Regions from separate parts of the Homo sapiens genome. Here all the other regions are linked to region 1. Evidence: promoter capture Hi-C in human tissues and cell types (Jung and others, 2019). All regions are on one chromosome and are shown on one strand. The core of a region is centred on a gene start or on the middle of the fragment in contact, and the rest is flanking DNA. Distances in the headings are between cores, read along the strand shown.

The links. Contacts are between HindIII fragments. The study calls those that stand out against the background at their distance.
Region 2: a contact is called between a fragment that was not itself captured here and the fragment with the promoter of BCAS4 in region 1, in 2 of the 25 tissues and cell types used here (bladder and thymus).
Region 3: a contact is called between a fragment that was not itself captured here and the fragment with the promoter of BCAS4 in region 1, in 1 of the 25 tissues and cell types used here (dorsolateral prefrontal cortex).

What each region holds. Positions count from the first base shown.
Region 1 is chr20:50,792,650-50,797,204 of GRCh38, forward strand. It overlaps BCAS4 (breast carcinoma amplified sequence 4), which reads left to right and starts at 2,412. Exons shown (of 5, transcript NM_198799.4): 1 at 2,412-2,524. The coding sequence starts at 2,435. RefSeq lists a silencer at 2,145-2,964. The HindIII fragment of the contact is 12,365 bases long and covers 1-4,555 here.
Region 2 is chr20:51,158,477-51,163,031 of GRCh38, forward strand. No RefSeq gene overlaps it. Among named protein-coding and RNA genes, the nearest start is that of KCNG1, 140 kb to the left of the region's middle. The HindIII fragment of the contact is 5,297 bases long and covers 1-4,555 here.
Region 3 is chr20:50,512,015-50,516,569 of GRCh38, forward strand. The region is part of intron 1 of PTPN1 (protein tyrosine phosphatase non-receptor type 1); the gene reads left to right. Among named protein-coding and RNA genes, the nearest start is that of PTPN1, 3.9 kb to the left of the region's middle. The HindIII fragment of the contact is 4,243 bases long and covers 1-3,801 here.

The DNA of each region.
Region 1 (4,555 bases), core at 1,162-3,661:
GAACCCGGGAGGCAGAGCTTGCAGTGAGCCGAGATTGTGCCACTGCACTCCAGCCTGGGCAACAAAGCAAGACTCTGTCAAAAAACAAAAAAAAGAAAGAAAGAAAGAAAAGAAAAAGAAATCCCTCCCTCCCATACCCCTCTCCAGTTTCTTCTCCCCCGCCCTAAAGTAACCACTTTTGGAACATGGGGTACGTCGTTCCCATGCACAGCTTTGTACTTTTGCTCCATCTGTCGGTGTCCATAAACAATATACAGTGTGGTTCTGCGTGTTTTAAAAACTGTGCTAATGGCACAGTGCCCTACAGAGCCTTCTGCAACACGACTTTTCTTCCTTAGCTTTATGTTTCTGAGATTTATCCACCAGGAGAAGTTTGCTGTGCTCAGGTCAATTTGGTGATCTGAGGCCAGTCCTGGGCTCTTTGTGGGAGATGCCTAGCCAGCAGGCAAGGGCAAGGGTCTGAGACCGGCTCCCAGGGGATGGCGAGGAGGGCTCAGAGCATCAGGGAAATCATGACAATGACGAATGGCCGAGTGTGGGCTCAGTGAGTTCCTATAAAACCCTTAAGCACTTGAGGCCCAAGTCTTTGCCAAGAATTTTCCAGAAAATGACTGGCCTGAAGGCCTGGATATTTGGATAGGGAGAAATTAGCAGTGGACAGATTTGGAAGTGGGAATTGTGCAGTGATGGACTACACAAAAGGCAGGTCAAACATGTGTTGTTTAGGCCCCTACCTAGGGTGGCCAACTACAATATAAATTCAGATTTAATGGAGAGGAAGGTGTGGGACGTCCTATATATTTATTTGCACCCTTGATACCAGCCCCTCCTTTTTAAAAAACAACAACAACAACAAAAGACAGAGTTTCACTGTGTCACACAGGCTGGAGTGCAGTGGTGCGATCATAACTCGCGGTAGCCTTGAACTCCTGGCCTCAAACAATCCTCCTGCATCTGCCTCTCCAGTAGCTAGGACTACAGTTGTGCCCCACCACATCCTGCAATTTTAATTTTTTTTTTTCTTTTAGAGAGATGGAGTCTCCTTATGTTTGCCCAAGCAGCTCAGCCTTTTTTTTTTTTTTTTTTTGTGAGGCGATTTAACATTTAAAGAAAAGTCAGCAGGCAGGGGGCGCTGGCCCACGCCTGTAATCCTAGCACTTTGGGAGGCCGAGGCAGGTGGCTCACCTGAGGTCAGGAGTTCGAGAGCAGCCTGGCCAACATGGCGAAACCCCGTCTCTACTAAAAAATACAAAAATTAGAATTAGTCGGGCGTGGTGACAGGCGCCTGTAATCCCAGCTACTCGGGAGGCTGAGGGAGGGGGAGAATTGCTTGAACCCGGAATGTGGAAGTTACAGTGAGCCGAAATCGCACCACTGCACTCCAGCCTGGGCGACAGAGCGAGACTCCGTCTCCAAAAAAAAAAAATTAATTAATTAAAAATAAAAATAAGTCATCAAACGAAAAATCAAAACTTCAGACTTGTCTTATACCTATTTGCCTTTTAGTACTTTCCTCATTAGCACTGTTGGGGTGGGAGATGAGGCGCACCTCGCTCTCTTCAGCCCCAAGGCTTGTAAAGGGTCTATCTAGGCCGGCCTCCGAGGGCATGGAGGGAGTGGGTGCGGTTGTGAAATGTAGTGCGCTCAATAGTTTCCTGGTGAAGTTTATTTTAAAATCCGCACCGAAGAGGAAGACGAGGACCGTCACACTCGGCCTTCCCTAAATTCCAGGACCCTCCGCCCGATGCAAACTAGATGCTTTAGTAGGATGGGAACGGGTGGGGGGCGGGCGGCTTTGGGCTTCCTCTAAGCTAGCGCCTCTCTAACCCGGACGCCCGTTAGAATCACCCGGGGAGTTTTAGAAACTACCGATGCCCAAGCCCCACTCCGAAGGATTCCAACTTAATCGGCCTGGTGCGAGGCCTGGCTTCCGGGCTTTTAAAAGCTTCCCGGGGATTCTATTTTACGGCCGGGTCCGGGGCCGGGAGCCTGTACTCTACCGGGATTCCGATGGGGAGGGGTGGCTTGCCCCAATAGTTCTCAAATTTAGCTTTGGGTCAACAATCTGGTTGGAACCACCTAACAAACATCAAAAGATCCTGATGCCCAGGTCTTAACCCAGAGACGGTGTGGTCCAGGCTTGGGAAATTCTAAAAGAGCTCCAGGTGACTGCCATCTGCAAGCGAGTTTGCAAAGCACTGATGCCCAGGTGCTGCGGGGGCGGGCGCAGCGCGCGCCGCTCGCCACTGGGTGGCGCTGCCCGCTCGGCCCGGCGCTCCTGGAGCTGCGAGCCGCGACCGCCGGGAGCGCACCTGCCCCGCCTCCGCCAGGCGGTCCGCGGGGCATGCAGCGGACCGGGGGCGGGGCTCCGAGGCCCGGGCGCAACCACGGGCTCCCAGGCAGCCTCCGCCAGCCGGACCCCGTCGCCCTCCTGATGCTGCTCGTGGACGCTGATCAGCCGGAGCCCATGCGCAGCGGGGCGCGCGAGCTCGCGCTCTTCCTGACCCCCGAGCCTGGGGCCGAGGTAGGGGACGGGGCTGTGGAGTTGGAGGAGAGGGTTCTCGCGGTTAGGGGTCCGGGCTCCGGACCCTCGGCTTCCCCGGAGCATCCTCTCGCTCCCGGAGTGGGGGGCCCGGGGATTCCCCCCTTCCTGAAGGGTGGCTGCGGGGCGCCACGCAGAGATGTGCAGCGGGTCGTCCCTGCTCGCTCCTCCGGGCGACACCGGGCCCCGGAGGCCCAGGCTCGCTTTCCCTCCCCACCCGGGTCCCCCAGCATCCGCCGGGTCCTCAGGCGCCGCCCTTTGCCAGGCCGGCCCTGGGAGAGGCGGACCCCGGGACCTCTGCTGCCCCGGCTACCTCCGAGCGGTGCCCGGGCCGAGCGGCGCCTCAGGCTGCGGCTGTGCGGGCCGCGCTGCGCTGCTGCAGCTCGGAGCGAAAACACCACGCCTCTGTCTGCGCTTTCTATTTTAAAAGCACCAAGTGAAAAGCAGATCTAAAACGAGACCCTCTACCTTCCGGCTGGAGGCATCTGTCGACGCTGTTGTGAAAAAGTTATTTGTCTGAGTTCACTAGGAGTTATTTACGGTCAGAAATTCAACCCATTCTCTTTTTAAACCACAAAAGCAGTACAGGAGTATTTAACATAAAGGCTATGCACCCCTTTCTCTTTTCTCTCCCACCCCAATTCTAGTTTTCTTAGAAAACCAGCATTAACTGTTTGGTATAAATCATTCCGGACATTTAAAATGCATTTACAAATGTAGATATCTGTATCTGCCTAGGCAGAGTATTGGCTCATGCCAGTGGTCCCAGCATTCTGGGAGGCTGAGGCAGGAGGATTGCTTGGGATGGGGATAGGGGACGGGGAAGAGTGAGGCTGCAGTGAGGCTTGATCATGCCACTGCACTCCAGCCTGGGCGACAGAGTGAGACATTTAAAAAAAAATCTATCTCGCCAGGCCTGGTGGCTCACGCTTGTAATCCCAGCACTACTGGGAGGCCGAGACGGGTGGATCACCTGAGGTCAGGAGCTCGAGACCAGCCTGACCAACATGGTGAAACCCCGTCTCTACTAAAAATACAAAAATTAGCCGGGTGTGTAATCCCAGCTACTTGGGAGGCTGAGGCAGGAGGATCGCTTGAACCTGGGAGGCGGAGGCTGCAGTGAGCTGAGATCAGCCATTGCATTCCAGCCTGGGCAACAAGAGCAAAACTCCCTCTCAAAAAAAAAAACCATAAAATATCTTTCCATATATATATATATACATATATATGAGTTTTCTCTTTTTTCTTTTTCTTTTTCTCCATATATATATATATATATATATATATATATATATATTTTTTTTTTTTTTTTTTTTTTTTTTGAGATGGAGTCTTGCTCTGTCACCAGGCTGGAGTGCATTGGCATGATCTCAGCTCACTGCAACCTCCGCCTCCCAGGTTCAAGGAATTCTCCTGCCTCAGCCTCCCGAGTAGCTGGGACTACAGGCGTGTGCCACCATGCTCAGCTAATTTTTGTATTTTTCAGTAGAGACGGGGTTTCACCATGTTGGCCAGGATGATCTCTATCTCTTGACCTCGTGATCCACCCTCCTCGGCCTCCCAAAGTGTTGGGATTACAGGCGTAAGCCACAGCGCCCAGCCATCTCCACATATTTTTAAAATAATTTTTGAACAGACGTTTTTAATTTTTTTTTTTTTGACAGGGTTTCACTTTGTCACCCAGGCTGGAGTGCAGTGACACAATCATAGCTCAATGTAGCCTCAACCTCCTGGGCTCAAGTGATCCTCCCACCTCAGCCTCCCGCATAGCCAGGACCACAGGTGCGCACCACCATGTCAGGTTAACTTTTAAAACAAAGTTATTTTGTGGAGACGAGATCTCACTATGTTGCCCAGGCGGGTCTTGAATTCCTGGGCCCAAGAGATCCTTTGGCCTCAGCCTCCCAAAGTGCTGGGATTATAGGCATGTACCACCATGCCTGGCCCATCTATATTAGTTTTAAATGAAACCTCACTTGCTGCTGTAATACTGTCCTGCAACTTGCTTTTCTT
Region 2 (4,555 bases), core at 1,019-3,518, 370 kb after region 1:
GGAGATGCAACATCCAGAGGGGATCTCTTAGCCTACTGGATCCAGTTAGATGTGTCCCTAGAGTTTTCACTTATGAGAGGCAGTAAGCCCCTTTAAATAATCAACCCCGTTTGAATAGAGTTTCTACCATATGCACACTTGACCACAAGGAGTTTATGATCTCACCGAAAAAAACAAGAAGGAATAGCCTTCTACTTGATTGTTATACTTGCATGTGCATATAGGTATATACATCTGTTTATGTTTAAGAGATTATTCTATGTTTAAGAGATTATCCTATACTCACGAAGAGCTGGATTTTAGTTCTGGCTTTGACTCTAAGTCATAGTGTGAACATGGGCCAACACCACTTCCTCTCTGAGCCTCAGTCTTCCCATCTGTGAAATGAATGCCCTGGGCTCTCTGCTCCCTAAAGCCAAGTCCCTTCCACTCTTTTTTTTTTTTGAGACACAGTTTCGCTCTTGTTGCCCAGGTTGGAGTGCAGTGGCACGATCTTGGCTCACTGCAACCTCCGCCTCCTGGGTTCAAGCTGTTCTCCTGCCTCAGCCTCCTGAGTAGCTGGGATTACAGGCACGTGCCACCACAGCCAGCTAATTTTTTGTATTTTTAGTAGAGATGGGGTTTCCCCATGTTGGCTAGGCTGGTCTTGAACTCCTGACCTCAGGTGATCCACCCGCCTCGGCCTCCCAAAGTGCTGGGATTACAGGCATGAGCCCCTGCATCCAGCCCCTTTCACTGTTATATACTAGGAATTTAAGATTAGTATCTGTGGGATGGCTGGAGACAAAATAATGAGAAACCAAGAAAACATTGATGTGCCCTCCGCTAGCCTCAGCATTCTGCTTGTTGATGCAGAAATGAGAAGGACCTAGGACCTGACTGGAAGGAGGAGCCGGGATTTGTGTATGGGAGGCCGCAGCAGCCTGGCCATGGGTTCTGCTGCCTCCTGCAGATGCGTAAAACATTGATAAGGATGATGCCTGCAAAGCGCCCTTCACAGATGGCTGTGGGCTGTACCCGGAGCGCGGGGAAGGAGATGAGAAAAGTAAGAGCAGTTGGCTTCAGATCAGCCCCAGATAGTGGCATGGGGATTGAAGCTTTTAACACAGACCTTGAATGCCCGTGACCCACAGGAACAGTGGCCAATGTTCTAAACTAAGGAGATGCAAAAACATCCAGCTCAGTCTCCTCTGCCTCTCAGACTCCAGACATGTCAGAGGAGGATATGACAACAAGCTTAGAGAGGCAACTGGCTTTTTCCCCTGAATCTCTGGTGGAACCGATCCTCCTGAGCTGAGATAACCATTTACACTATTGATTGACTGATTGATTTCTAAAGGTGAAAAGCATATTTGTTAGGGTCTGTTTGGCTCCAAAACCCCTGAGTAACAGCAGCTAAAAGGATAAGAATATCACTCCTGTCTTAACAAGGTGTCTGGGCAGAAGTACCAAGATACCGCACGTCATAAAAATGTCATCAGGGAATTAGGCCCTTTCCCAGTCTCCTTTCTGGGTTGACCCTCTGTCCTTGAATTTGTTATCTCCAACCCTAAGATGGTTGCCACAGCTCCAGGTGTTGTGTCTCTGATCCTCTTCTGCATCCTAGGGAGGAGGCAGGGCATAGGTGAGAGGCTCTCTTTGTAAGCCGAAGCCTTTTGATCTGAAACATTCACTTTCTAGTAGCCTTTGAAGAGACCTGCTTATACAACTCATCGGCCAGAATGGAGGGACACATCCCACTCCAGGCTGTAAAGAGCCTGGGATAAGTGTTAGTGCATAGAGGCAGAGGAGAAATGGGCTGATCAGGTGGTTGATGGTGGACCAAGGCAGAACAGGGATGAACATAAGCCCTAGGAGGGGCCTCCCATATGTTTCTCCACTGGGGGCTGAGTCTGAGGTTGGCTTACAGATTGTCTGGTCCCCGATTCTTCTCTTGGTTTGACCACTTGCTCACCATGTACCCACAAAGTACAAGACAGAGGTTTCAGTTTGTGGAGCAGAGGCTAGAATTGAATCCCAGTGGGAATGAACTAATTTGCAGACGCTATCTCCAAACTTAAATATTTGATACCCATTAAGCCTGTCTAACCAAAGCATCTCCCCAGGCATGAGTCACCAAACTTGACCTGCTCTCCACCCTCGGATCTAGTCAGGCTAGACAACACTGCTGTCAACAAATTTTAGGATCTCTGTGGCTGAACCTGGATGTTTACTTTTCATGCACACAGAGGCTACTGTGGATCTAGAGCCTCTCCATGGAAGCTCCCTGCAGATGGGTGGCTCCAGTCTCCAAGGGCTTCCATCTTATAGCTATACGTGGCTCCAGGGTCCCTGTGGCAGGGGAGGAGACCCACAGGCTTATGTACTGGCTCTTAAATGCTTCAGCCGGGAAGGGACACAGCTCCCTTCTGCTCACAGCCCATTGGCCAGAAGTAGTTACATGGCCCCACCTAACTCCAAGGGACCAGCCCACGAGGAGGAGTGCATGGATGGATGGGAGTGGGAACCGTGGCTCCACACCTGCCCTGTATGGCTCCCCGCCACCCTCAAGGTCAAGTCCTTACCCCAACCTCTCAGGCTTCCCCAATCCCCACTGCACAGCCCATGGTTCAGGGACACAGAGGCACTTCAGTACTCACAGCAGGCTTTCCGCAAGCTTCGCTCCTTGCCTTCACACATGCTGTCCCTCTGTCCCTTCCCCTTCTCCTGGGTGATTCCTGCTCATTCTTCATGTCATGGTTATTTATGTGTCAACTTGACTGGGCTAAGGGAAGCCCAGATTGCTGGTTAAACATGACTTCTAGGTGTATCTGTGAGGGAGTTTCTGGAAGAGCTGAGCATTGGAATCCATAGACTGTGTAAAGAAGACCACCCTGCCCAATGTAGGCATGCATCATCCAGTCCTCTGACAGCCCCAGTAGAACAAAAAGGTGGAAGAAGCATGAATCTGTTTCCTCCATTGGAGGTGGGACCTCCATCTTCTCCCACTCTCAGACACTGGTGCTCCTGGTTCTCAGGCCTCCAGACTCAGACTGGGAATTGCACCCCAGGCTATGAACTTGAACTGAATTACATCACTGGCTTTTCTGGATCTCCAGCTTGCAGAGGGCACATCACGGGACTTATTGGCCTTCAGAATCACGTGAGCAAATTCTCATAATGAATCTCCTCTTATAAATCTGTCTGCATCCTGTTGGCTCCATTTCTCTGGTGAACGCCAACTCCAACACTTCATGGCTCATCTTGGGTTCTGTGTTTTCCCTTCCGTTCAGGGGATCGGGTGTGTTCGGTGGGCTCCCCTCACCCCCTCCATGTACACCATTGACGCCTCATCACCCGGTATTTTATCTATCTGTTTCCTTGGCTCTCCCGCACTAGCCCACAAGGTATGCCTTGGTGCTGTTAACCGTGTATGCCCAGCATCCAGGGCAGTGTCTCACACAGAGTAGGAACCCAATGACCATCAGTTGATTAAAAAAAAAAAAAAAGCAGTGAATAAATGTTTATTTCAGTTGCTTTAAATCCGTATCTTGGAAAATATGGAATGAAGAGAGGTAAATAAGTTTCATTAGAGATCCGTCTGTAAAAAAAAAAACATAGCTTCCTGATGACACGTGGCTGTTTCCTGAGGACAGAGAAGGAAGCTGCATCCCTGCCTGTCCTTTAGAGTAACGCAGGCTGAGACTCCAAGTCCAGCCCTGTCACCAGGAAGCCACAGGACCCTGGGAGAGTCACTTCCCCATTTTGAACCTTGCTGATCAGATGGGGATGATAACAGTATCTGCTTCGAAGTCTCATCGAAGAGGGCATGTGAAGCCCTCAGCACCCGGCAGGTAGACTGCATGCTCTCAGTGAGCATCAGTTCTTGGTATGATGGTTTATTATTTCTAATGATCAAACCATATTAGTATTGGGGCTTAAAGAATCCTTTAAAGAATGCAGCTTGTGCTGGCATTTAGAGATGGGAGTGCGTTCTGATTCCACAGCTAGCTGGTGGGGGGCCCTCAGTTCCTTCACCTCCACAATGACCCTCTCTTTATTTCACAAGTTTGTTCTCGAGGTCCTGTGAAGTAACTACAAAATCTCGTTTCTTTACTCAAGCACACCGCGAGCTTGGTGTGCTTGAATGCTTGGTGTGCAGGCTGTGAGGGTAGCTCTGGCGCTGGGTTGCTAGAGTTGGACTCCCAGCTGTGCCACTGGCTGTGTGGCTGGAGCTGCTAACCCAGCCTTTCTGTGCCTCAGTTTCTTCATCTGTAAAATGGGGATCCCAGCAGTACTTATGACTCGCGGGGTTGTTGTGGGAATTGTGTTAAACACATCAAACATTTAGAAAGTCCTTGGAATATAATAAGTGCTCAATAAATGTTGGTTGATATGATTCTTGTTATTGTCAGATGCTAACGACAGGTGTGGAGGATGGAGTGGTTCCTCCCCCCGTGGAGCACACGGGGAGCAGAGGAGCAGGAGAGGTAAATGAGCAATCAAAGCCCGGGTAGAAAGTTCTACACGCAGGAGATTAAGAGGGAGCCAGCACAAATGTGGGCCGAGGAGCCAG
Region 3 (4,555 bases), core at 430-2,929, 280 kb before region 1:
CTTATTTGACAGGATTCTTTTTATTTGGACTGTAGTGTGTATATTAGTTTCTGCTAGACTAATATTTCTAACCACTGTAATCTATATACTAATAAGTATGATTGATCAGTATATAAAATTTGTATGCCATATCTGGTCTCTGAATTAGCTGAATGAATTCCATAAGGGACTTTGAGACTGTGTAGACAAATTTTCTGCATCAGTTTAATGCAGTAGAGTCTAAAATGTCTTTAAATGAAAATTGTTGGTCTGAAGTGTTGGAGTTGATTATGATACACCCCATCACAGTGGAAGCATTGTGGAGAGAAGTCTTTTCCACTGAAATTGACTGAGTTGACAACAAGAAATACGTATTGTAACTTAGTTCTTAGTTGAATTTTATTTCTTACAATTTTAAGCCAGAGTGGGTTGACCTGTCACCCAAGCATGGTTAAAATTGTATTCAGCATGCAACTAGCATGGAGTGTGTCAGTCTTCAATTCATTTCCTTCATTGTTCTTAAGTTTTTCTGCCACAATTAAACCCCACAAGTTAGTCAAGGTGTTGAGATTTTCACTGCTTCTTAATGGATTGCCACATTCCCTGAGGTAGTTTCTTTTGGTCTTAGAGAATTGTCAGGGCCAGCTTTTCTCACCTCCACTGTATGGATATTTTTCTTTTCTAAGATCTTGAAATCAGAAGCTTTTCTCCTAAGTGTAAAAGTAGCTCTTTGTCATACAACTGTAGCGTTTTCTGAAACAGAGTTCAGATGACCTTGAGTCTAAAGTGGCTAACTTTCCAAGGTGTGTATCGCTTTACCAAAACCATTATTTTTCAAGGATTCAAAGAATGTGTTTACAATTGATAGAAAATGGAAGTTTAAAAAAATTAATACTTTATAGCATGTTGAAATGAGGGCAGCCTTATACAAAGTCATACTTTGAGCTTGCCTAGCCTATTGTGATCAGAGAATAATGTAATTTTTGCTTACAACTTGGTAAGCAGGTCAGTTATTCTAACTTATTTTCTGATTAGAACAAAAAGATGTAAAAACTTGAAAACTATTGGGAAAAGAACAAAGAGTGAAGAGGACTTTTGAGTGCTGAGGAATGTGGCAGCTTGGAAAACAAACTTTTTAGGCAGAGATTCTTTGCTAGGTCAGTTTGATAAAGTGAGCATAACCGTATTTTTAATCTTTAATGCTAATGAATAGCATAGATGCTAATAAGCATCTAGGTCTATAAAAAGTCAGCTTTGATAGTGTATATAGATGGCTTTAAACATTGTTTTCTAGCATTTAAACACTTTCAAATCATCCGGTTGCTTGATTGGGCCTAGCTGTCTAAGAGGAGAGAATGAGCCCAGATGAGGAAAAGAGATTGATTTTACTGAGCTAGAATGAGAGGAGAGAGGGTTGAGTGAATGAAAAGAATAGCTCATGTGCTCCCCTCCATCTGTAGTTTAAGAGGGGTTGGGTCCGGTGTTTTGCTTGTTTTCTCGTCTGTAAATTCTTTGATTCTCTGACACCACTCACTATATTTCATTGTGAATGATTTGATTGTTTCAGATAAAGGGGACTGCAATAATACCTTGTGACATGAAGGCAAGATTTATTCATGTTAGAGGCAGGCTTTGTAAAATGGGCCACTCTTCCAATTGACATTTGTTTTTATAGCTGTTTTCATTATGAAATACAATCTAATGCCTGACTAGGTTAAAACCATGTTGTAACAATAGTTCACTAAAATTCCTTACTGATATACAGCTTATGTTGTTATATTCCAAAAAGATGAATATTAAAATTTGCCAATAATGTTTATTTAAATACTATTTTCTTCAGAGGAAAAAAAACTATTTTATGCAAAGGAGAAAGATCTATACACTATGACTCACTTCACTTAAAAAAAAAAAGACTAACGGAAATGACATGGAGAGACTGGGAAGTTCTAGTCATCTTGAGTGACCCATTAGATCTAAATGTTCTTGTTTAGCCCTGGTTTGAGTGAACTAAATTTAGGTGTCTGATCAGTACTTTGGAAATGGTGTAAATGCCTTTGTAATTGTCTGGACTGATATTAGATTAACTGGGAGCACAAGTAGAAATAGTGAAGGAAAGAACTTTTTGCTATTGTTATTTGACATCACTGGCATATTTATAGGAATACTTTGGTGTTTTTGGAAGTAAGTAAACCAACCAGTGGTTCTAAAAAGTCAGCTGGGGGATAATGGTAATGCCGCTGTTTCTTAGCTGCAAGTTATCTGCCGTTACTTCTCCTCCATTTTGCATTTTATCTTGAATAGCTCCTCAAAACCTATTAAAATACCTGGTATTGAATAATGTAATTGAATGTGTACTGAATTTCACAGTGGAAATGAATAAGAAATTTCCTGTGGAGGTTTTTTGACTTAGCTACTGAAATAACGGCCTTTTGTTGTGTGATTCTTTCCCTTTTCTCTTTGTTAAAGAAAACTGTCTTGTGATCTTGTAGATTACAGAATCCTTTTGGCAATTTCTGTTCCTAGCACTGCTTTTTCTTTCTTTCTTTCTTTTAAATAGAAATGGGGTTTTGCTGTGTTGCCCAGGTTGGTCTTGAACTCCTGGCTTCAAGCGATCCTCCCACCTTGGCCTCCTGAAGTTGGGATTGCAGGCGTGAGCAGGTACTTTTTCTGAGGCCTGCCTGAGCCTATATATATTTTGCACAATTTGGCATTCCTCCCTACAGTGTTTATGCTGATTTGTTTCTGGTAACAACTAATACTGGCAAATCGGCTGGGCATGTTACTTTATGCTGCCCATATTCAGGAAAATTGGAATTCTAGCTGGGTCATTGTTCCCAGATGATGTAGTTTGGCACCAGCCATTCCATGTTCACATTTTGAGTATCCAGGAGGGCTGGGGACTTTGGAGTAGTTGGTGATTCCCTCTGCCACATTTCACTGGTTGGTCACTATGGCATCCTTTCCACCACACTAGTAGTCTAGGTTCTCAGATGTTGCTTATGAGCCTGCAATGGTTTCTAGTTTCACACTGCAGAAATGAGTGAAGCCGGTTACCCGTTAATATGGTCCCATCATCACTAGAGTAATTCATTGTTCTAAAACCAGATCTGAGTCTCTCACTCCTCTGCAACTACTTCTGATTCTTTCATAACACTTGTAAAGTCCAAACTCCTCTTTAGCATGGCAGCCAGCTTCCAGTCCTTCCCTCCTATGTGGCTTCCATTCTAGCCAGACAAGAAAGGGCAGCGTTCTCCAAACTCATCCTCGCCCTTCATTCCTCTATACCATTGCTGAGCACTTTGTTGAGGATGCCTCTCCCGTTCAATCTAGCTTGCATCTTCCAGCTCGAATGTGTGCTTCCTTGCACCAGAGTTTTGTTCCGTCACCTGTGTGTTTTCATACAAGCTGGCACATATCTCTTCTAAAGCCCTGCTGTCATTGTAGCTGCGTCTTTACAAACATTTTTTTTTTAAATTTTTATAAAGTCAAGGTCTCACTATATTGCCCAGGCTGGTCTCAAACTCCTGGGCTCAAGTGATCCTCCTGCCTTGGCCTCCCAGAGTGCTGGGATTATAGGTATGAGACACTGTGCCCAGCTGTAGCTGCTACTTTATATCCCAGGTCTATCTCCAATGGAGCCCAAGCTTCCTGAGGCCACCTGTTGTATCTTTCTCATTCATCTTGAAGTCCTCTGCTCCTGGCACAGAGTAGGTACCTAACAAGAGTTGGGATTGAATTGATGGTCAGTACTTTGCTAGCCTGATGGTATAAAGATGTACAAAACATGTTCCTGGCTCCCACTCTAGGGGGGCAATGATGGAAACAAATAGATTAGCCCACATTAGTACCAATAGTAGAGGTCACTCTGGGAGAAGGCCCCCACCACATTTTGAGTCATGGCCTAATGAGGTAATTTAGTATTGCCTGCTGCAGTGGCTTTGGAAGAAAGGCTGGCATTCTTAGCCAGTAGAAGCTGATACCACTGATTTGTTTCACAGAAGCTTTAAATATAACAATAAATTTGTGCTTGGCCTACGGTGAACTTTACAGGCAACTTGGAGGTAATATGTTTGTCTCTCTAAGAATTGTTGAATTCCTCTTCCCTCATCCCTCCTGACTGGTTCTCACAAGCCTAGCGGGCCTTTGCATGTGGTTGGTTCATAAAATACTTTTTGATTTTGGGATATAAAATATAGTTCTCCATAAAATAACGACTGTTACCAAGTCTTTGATTTTTTTTTTCAAACTATAAATGGTAATGACATTCTTTGGCCTTTGATCAGACCACCCTTAGGGGCAAGAGAGTAGTTTCATGTTTTGCTTTTTCTAGTGTCCCCTGTGTCTGGGTATAGTTGCAGTCTCAGCTGTCATACTAACAGTGCTGAGTGAGTCCCTTACTTTCTTTGGGTTTTGGTTTCTCCCTTGTAAAAATGATCCTGGACTAACTGATCATTAAGTTCAGGTCAAGTAATAAAAATCCTTAATGTACTCACAAATACAATTTAATGTTCCTGAATAATCCTTGTAAAAACTGCAGCAGTTACTCAGTTTTGTAAGGTGTGGTTGGGTACTATTA